Linked DNA regions of Homo sapiens: region 1 is linked to region 2. The links are contacts of gene promoters, found by promoter capture Hi-C in blood cells and fetal thymus (Javierre and others, 2016). All regions are on one chromosome and are shown on one strand. The core of a region is centred on a gene start or on the middle of the fragment in contact, and the rest is flanking DNA. Distances in the headings are between cores, read along the strand shown.

Evidence for each region. The method cuts DNA at HindIII sites, captures the fragments that hold promoters and counts their contacts. A CHiCAGO score of 5 or more calls a contact.
Region 1: a fragment that was not itself captured here is called in contact with the fragment with the promoter of FOXB1 in region 2 in 4 of 17 cell types (activated CD4 T cells, naive CD4 T cells, total CD4 T cells and 1 more); the score reaches 7.6 in activated CD4 T cells.

What each region holds. Positions count from the first base shown.
Region 1 is chr15:60,125,587-60,128,341 of GRCh38, forward strand. No RefSeq gene overlaps it. Among named protein-coding and RNA genes, the nearest start is that of FOXB1, 120 kb to the left of the region's middle. RefSeq lists an enhancer at 2,293-2,482. The HindIII fragment of the contact is 2,238 bases long and covers 328-2,565 here.
Region 2 is chr15:60,002,711-60,005,729 of GRCh38, forward strand. It overlaps FOXB1 (forkhead box B1), which reads left to right and starts at 1,601. Exons shown (of 2, transcript NM_012182.3): 1 at 1,601-1,933; 2 at 2,197-3,019. The coding sequence starts at 2,254. RefSeq lists an enhancer at 1,282-1,797. The HindIII fragment of the contact is 10,028 bases long and covers 1-3,019 here.

The DNA of each region.
Region 1 (2,755 bases), core at 197-2,696, 120 kb after region 2:
GGTTGGTTGGTAATCCCAGAACTACGGGAGGCCGAGCTGTGTGGATCATTTGAGGTCAGGAGTTTGAGACCAGCCTGACCAACATAGTGAAACCCTGTCTCTCCTAAAAAATACAAAAATTAGCCAGGCGTGGTGGCGTGTGCCTGTAGTCCCAACTACTCAGGGAGCTGAGGTAGGAGAATCGCTTGAACACGGGAGGTGGAGGATGCAGTGAACTGAGATCACGGCACTGCCCGCCAGCCTGGGTGACAGAGTGAGACTCTGTCTCAAAAAAAAAAGAGAGACAGAGAGAGGTTGGTTATAGGTACAAAATAGTTAGAAGAAATAAGCTTTAATGTTTGATAGCAGACTAGGGTGACTACACTTAGCAAGAATATTAGGTACATTTCAAAGTAACTAGATGAGAGAACTTGAAATGATACCAACACAAAAATAATGATAAACACTGAGGGTGATGGATAACCCAGATATCCTGGCTTGATCATTACACATTCTATGCATGTAACAAACACATGTACCCCACACACATGTAAAATATTATGTATCAATAAAAGAGAAAACAACACATTCTAAACAATCTAGGAGAAGCTGACAGCCCTCAGTTACAGCATTTTGCACCGCATTTGAGTAGTAATTCTAAGAAGGTGCCACAGAGAGGGCTAGCAGCATGGCTTCTGGTTAACGCTGCACTGACCCAGAAGAATCCAGCTATTGGACTACTTGAGAGATGGAGAGAGACAGCTCTTCTTGCCTTCCTGCCTAGTTTACCCTGTGCACACCTCCAAATTTGCTCACAGAAGGGGAAGCATCTGCTGTGTGGTTGCAGCCATCGCACCCAACCTGCTTAGTGCAGGGTACTCCCTAAATTGTAAGATGTGATCACACATTTGAACATGAGAAAGCATTAAGGGGTTATTGGTTTACAGTTGCATGTGCTTAAGGAACTAAGTTGTACATGAAAAACACAAAAACGAAAGCAGGGAGTAGATTGTAGAATGAGCCCTGTGTGTGAAATTGGCAGACCTGTCAGTCCCAGGTTTGCCTCCAGCTGGCTACCCATTATTAACACAGGACCTAGCCTTCTAGGGCTGTGTGACCTCATCTATTGAATGTCTGTCTGTCTGTCTGTCTGTCTATCTATCTATCTATCTATCTATCTATCTATCCACCTACCTACCTATCAATCTATCTATCTATCTGTCTATCTATCTATCTATCTATCTATCTATCTATCCATCTGTCCGTCTGTCGGTCCATCCATCCATCCATCCGTCCATCCATCCGTCCGTCTATCCATCCATCCATCCATCCATCCATCCATCCATCCAGCCATCCTCTCATTCCATGAATAGTTTTTTTTGAGTGCCCAGTATGTGCCAAGTACTACACTAGGCAGTAGGCAGGCATGTCTGCCTCCAGAAGATGACAGATTTCCTAAAGCAGTGTACATTACTTCTGGATTATCTTTGTCAGGCTCCACTTCCCCTTTACCTTTTTTTTTTTTTTTTTTTGCACAAGTAATTGTGAGTAACTATAGGCACTTTTGAGAAGGGTGGCTTTCAGCTAAACCTAAAAGAAACTTCTGGGTAAATATAAATGATCAGCATAAAAACAACATAGTCGTTCTCTTGGGATTTTAAAACTGACATGGTGACAAATTGTTGATGGAGGATGGACAGCTTCCAGGGCAGAGAAAGTGAACTGGTGGCCCTGGCCAGGCCAGCCCAGCCCACAGCTGTGCTCAGTTAGGCTTGCCTGGTGTACCCACACAGCTGTTTTTCTCCTAACAGAGATTTGTTTCTCTAGACCACCGACTTTATCAAAAGTGGGAAAATCAGAATAGGATTAAGAACAAGAGATCTTTTCCAAAAAATTGTATTGACCATGCAGTGGGCTCTACCCTTTTTTGTTTTCTGTGTTTGTGTGTGTGTGTGTGTGTGTGTGTGTGTGTGTGTGTGTGTGCGCGCGCGCGCGCGCACGTTTGTTTTTGTATACCCCATCTGACCACAACAGCTGTTGGGTTTGTGGCACTTCACTCCAGACTAAAAGATAAGTTTGTCTGTACCTGGCCTCTCAAAAACGTCATTTGGAAAGTTGTTTCCTAATATGAGGGGTTGGGGGAAGGGAGCAGCGGAAGACGAGGAGAGGGTGCCCCCTTTCTGTAACTTCCCAGCTACAGCAGAGACAGACAAATCTCACACTGTAAGCCGAGACAGGCTGGGGATTATCTGGCTCACTCCTGATTTAATACATGAAGAAATGAAGCCTCAGAGAAGCCCAGAGCTTGCCCTAAGCCAGACAGCTGAACCGAAACAGGACCAACCCGCTCTCCTGACTCTGCCCTATGGTTTTTTCCCTCTCCTTTAAGATGCCTCAACCTCGAGTGAAAGTGAAACTGCAACTTCTATTAAATCATGCTTTTTAATCATCTCTGAGCACCACGACTTTTTACACGGTTTCCCCTCCTAGGTAATTATCTAAGTGAAATCTTTCATTCTGTCCTGGCATGAGGAGCCCAGAAAAATGAGCCCCCAAGAGTTGGCTCACTGGCAGCATGCCCTGCAAAGCTTCTCTGGTTTGCTAAGAAGCACTTCAGAGCCCCAAACTCATCTTTCTCATGTCACAAAAGAGTGACTGCTCCTGCAGGAATGTCACAAGTACAAAACAAAGGAACTCGGGATCATCAGTAGAGTTCAGTGTTAAGAACATGAACTTGGAACCAAACTGGAGTTGGGAAAAACTTTTCTTTGGCCCG
Region 2 (3,019 bases), core at 351-2,850:
CCAAACAGCTCCACTAATAATGCTCTAATATCACTTAAAGTGTTGAAACTTAACACCCAGAATTCTCTACGATCACCACGTCTAGGGAAAAAAAAAGTTCTCCCATTTCTGGACTTTGAAGATGATTCTGTGTGGGCTGTAAGTATTGAGTTTTTAACAACGCAGTAAAATGAATGTCTTTTAAAAACCTTAAAGGTCGGAGAATGTGCAGAAACCCGTGGGAACTCCTGGTGTGTACTTATAGAGTGCGTGCATGCAGGCGGGGTCGACTCACTATTTATTTCATAGCAATTTGATGATGATGATGATGACGGCAGCGACGACGATGAGGATAATGATAATAATAATAATGATTCATTTAACCCTTCCAAGGCGAATCCGAACCGAAGGGAGCCTGCTGCTCGCACCAGGCGGAGTGACCCAAGGCACATTCCCCGCTCCCCAAGAAGGAAAACTCTATGGTTCTTTCCCCAAGTTGTAGAAGATACTGCTGTCTTAGTGGGATCGCAGGCGGCTTTTGCTACACTCTAAATCCTAAATAAGTTCTCCATACCAAAAAAAGCGGCAGTTGGGGGATGGGGGGTGGGAGGTTGGGGGGGTGGGAGGGCTGGGAAGGGGAGTTCCGGGTGTAAAATGAAAACTTCCAGGATGTGCCTGAGTCCTAAAGTTTCAAACCACCTGGGAAAAGCGAGAGCCCCTGAGGCTTACCTGGTGATAAACTGTGTCAAACAAACTCAGGCCCTCCCCAGGTCCGCACAACATTTGCCCCAACAGCTCCTGAGCCTCCATCCTGTGTCCAACCAAATTCCCGGAGGACTTTTAAAGCAAATACCTGGACTCTTCGCCCAGATACACTATTTTAATTTTTAAAAATTTGGTCAATACAGTTACATTCAAAATGGGTTCTTACATGGGGATGTCCAATCACATTTTGAAAGTATTTGTAAACCCCATCACTTTTTCAAAGCTACACACTAACTATACAAAGCTGAAGCAGCTGCATAGGAAAGTCAAGTCAAATTTCGACCTAACTCTCCGGGGACTGGGGGGCAAGGGTGTGTTTTCATTATTATAACCCATGCAACCAACCCCGGGTAGTGCTAAGCGCAGGAAAAGGGTCGGCTTCAGGGGAAAGCCGTGCCTAAAGTTACCTAACGATACAAACCGGATACAACGCAGAGGAAACAGAATACCCCAGCCAAGCAATTTCCATGTCAAACATCATCCGCGCGGCTGCTCCATCTGTGAACGTGAGTGGTCGCCTGGCTCCCTCTTCCGCGGCGGCCGCTTCCTCATACCTTCACACGGCGCACACCGGCCGGCGCGTCCAGCTGCCTGCCCAGTGGCCGAGGCTCTTCCCCCTCGCCCAGTCTTGAGCTGGAAGTGATTCCTATTGGCCAAGGTGTCCATGTAAATAGGTGTGAAAGAAACCAGAGCTGGCCGGGCTCTCCCTTCTCGCTCAGTCCCCTCCCTCTGCAGCCCCCGCTCCCCCTCCTCTTCCTCCTCCTCCCAAGGCGATTGTCATATGATAGCTAAGAAGTGGCACATTAATGAAGCGCCGCTACAGGGGTCTTTTCTGCTCCTGTCACCGCTTAAAACTATCAGATGGTTCGAGGGAGGACATGGAGGCAGCCACCTAGCTCAGCGGAGACGCGGAGCCCACAGCAGCGCCCTCCGGAGCCCTAACACGTCGCTGCCACCATCCGCGCCGGGACTCCGCAGCCGAGCTCGGCCGCCCGCAGGACGCTCCAGGAGCGTCGCGGACCGGGCGGCACGGGACGCTGCGGGGCTGAGCTCAAGAGCCCAGGTTCGCGCCGAGTCCAACCGGACCCGGACGCTGCGCGCGGAGTGCGCGTCGAGTGCGCGCCGAGAGAGAAGCGGCGCGCAGCGGCGTCCTCCCGGATGCGGACGCGCAACTTGAAGCAACTTTAAGGTGAGCAGCTCTCTGTTCCGTCCCTGCCCCCTATTCTGGCCCCAGTACCGACTTACTTCCCGGCTATCCTCGCGCCGTTCGCCGGCTTCCCCTCCCGCGCCCACTAAGCCCGCAAAGTTGCTGGCGAAAGAGTCCGGGCGCTGGCTGATCGAGCGCCGCAGGCCCCACCCCCGACCCCCGAAGTCTGTTACTCGGTCTGGCTGACCCCGCCGGTGTCTCTGTGCATCCATGCTACCTTTCCCTATTACCCACCCCCTTCCCAGATCCGAGCAGTCCGCCGGCCCGCGCGGACCCAGAGCAAGAAGAGGGCGAGGAAGAAGATGCCTCGGCCCGGCCGCAACACGTACAGCGACCAGAAGCCGCCCTACTCGTACATCTCGCTGACCGCTATGGCCATCCAGAGCTCTCCCGAGAAGATGCTGCCGCTGAGCGAGATCTACAAGTTCATCATGGACCGCTTCCCCTACTACAGGGAGAACACGCAGCGCTGGCAGAACAGTCTGCGCCACAACCTCTCCTTCAACGACTGCTTCATCAAGATCCCGCGGCGGCCGGACCAGCCAGGCAAGGGCAGCTTCTGGGCGCTGCACCCAAGCTGCGGGGACATGTTCGAGAACGGCAGCTTCCTGCGGCGCCGCAAGCGCTTCAAGGTGCTTAAGTCCGACCACCTGGCGCCCAGCAAGCCAGCCGACGCGGCGCAGTACCTGCAGCAGCAGGCCAAGCTGCGGCTCAGCGCGCTGGCGGCCTCGGGCACGCACCTGCCACAGATGCCCGCCGCCGCCTACAACTTGGGCGGCGTGGCGCAGCCCTCGGGCTTCAAGCACCCCTTCGCCATCGAGAACATCATCGCGCGGGAATACAAGATGCCTGGGGGGCTGGCCTTCTCCGCCATGCAGCCGGTGCCCGCTGCCTACCCGCTCCCCAACCAGTTGACTACCATGGGCAGCTCGCTGGGCACCGGCTGGCCACACGTGTATGGCTCCGCCGGCATGATCGACTCGGCCACCCCCATCTCCATGGCGAGTGGCGACTACAGCGCCTACGGCGTGCCGTTGAAGCCGCTGTGCCACGCGGCGGGCCAAACGC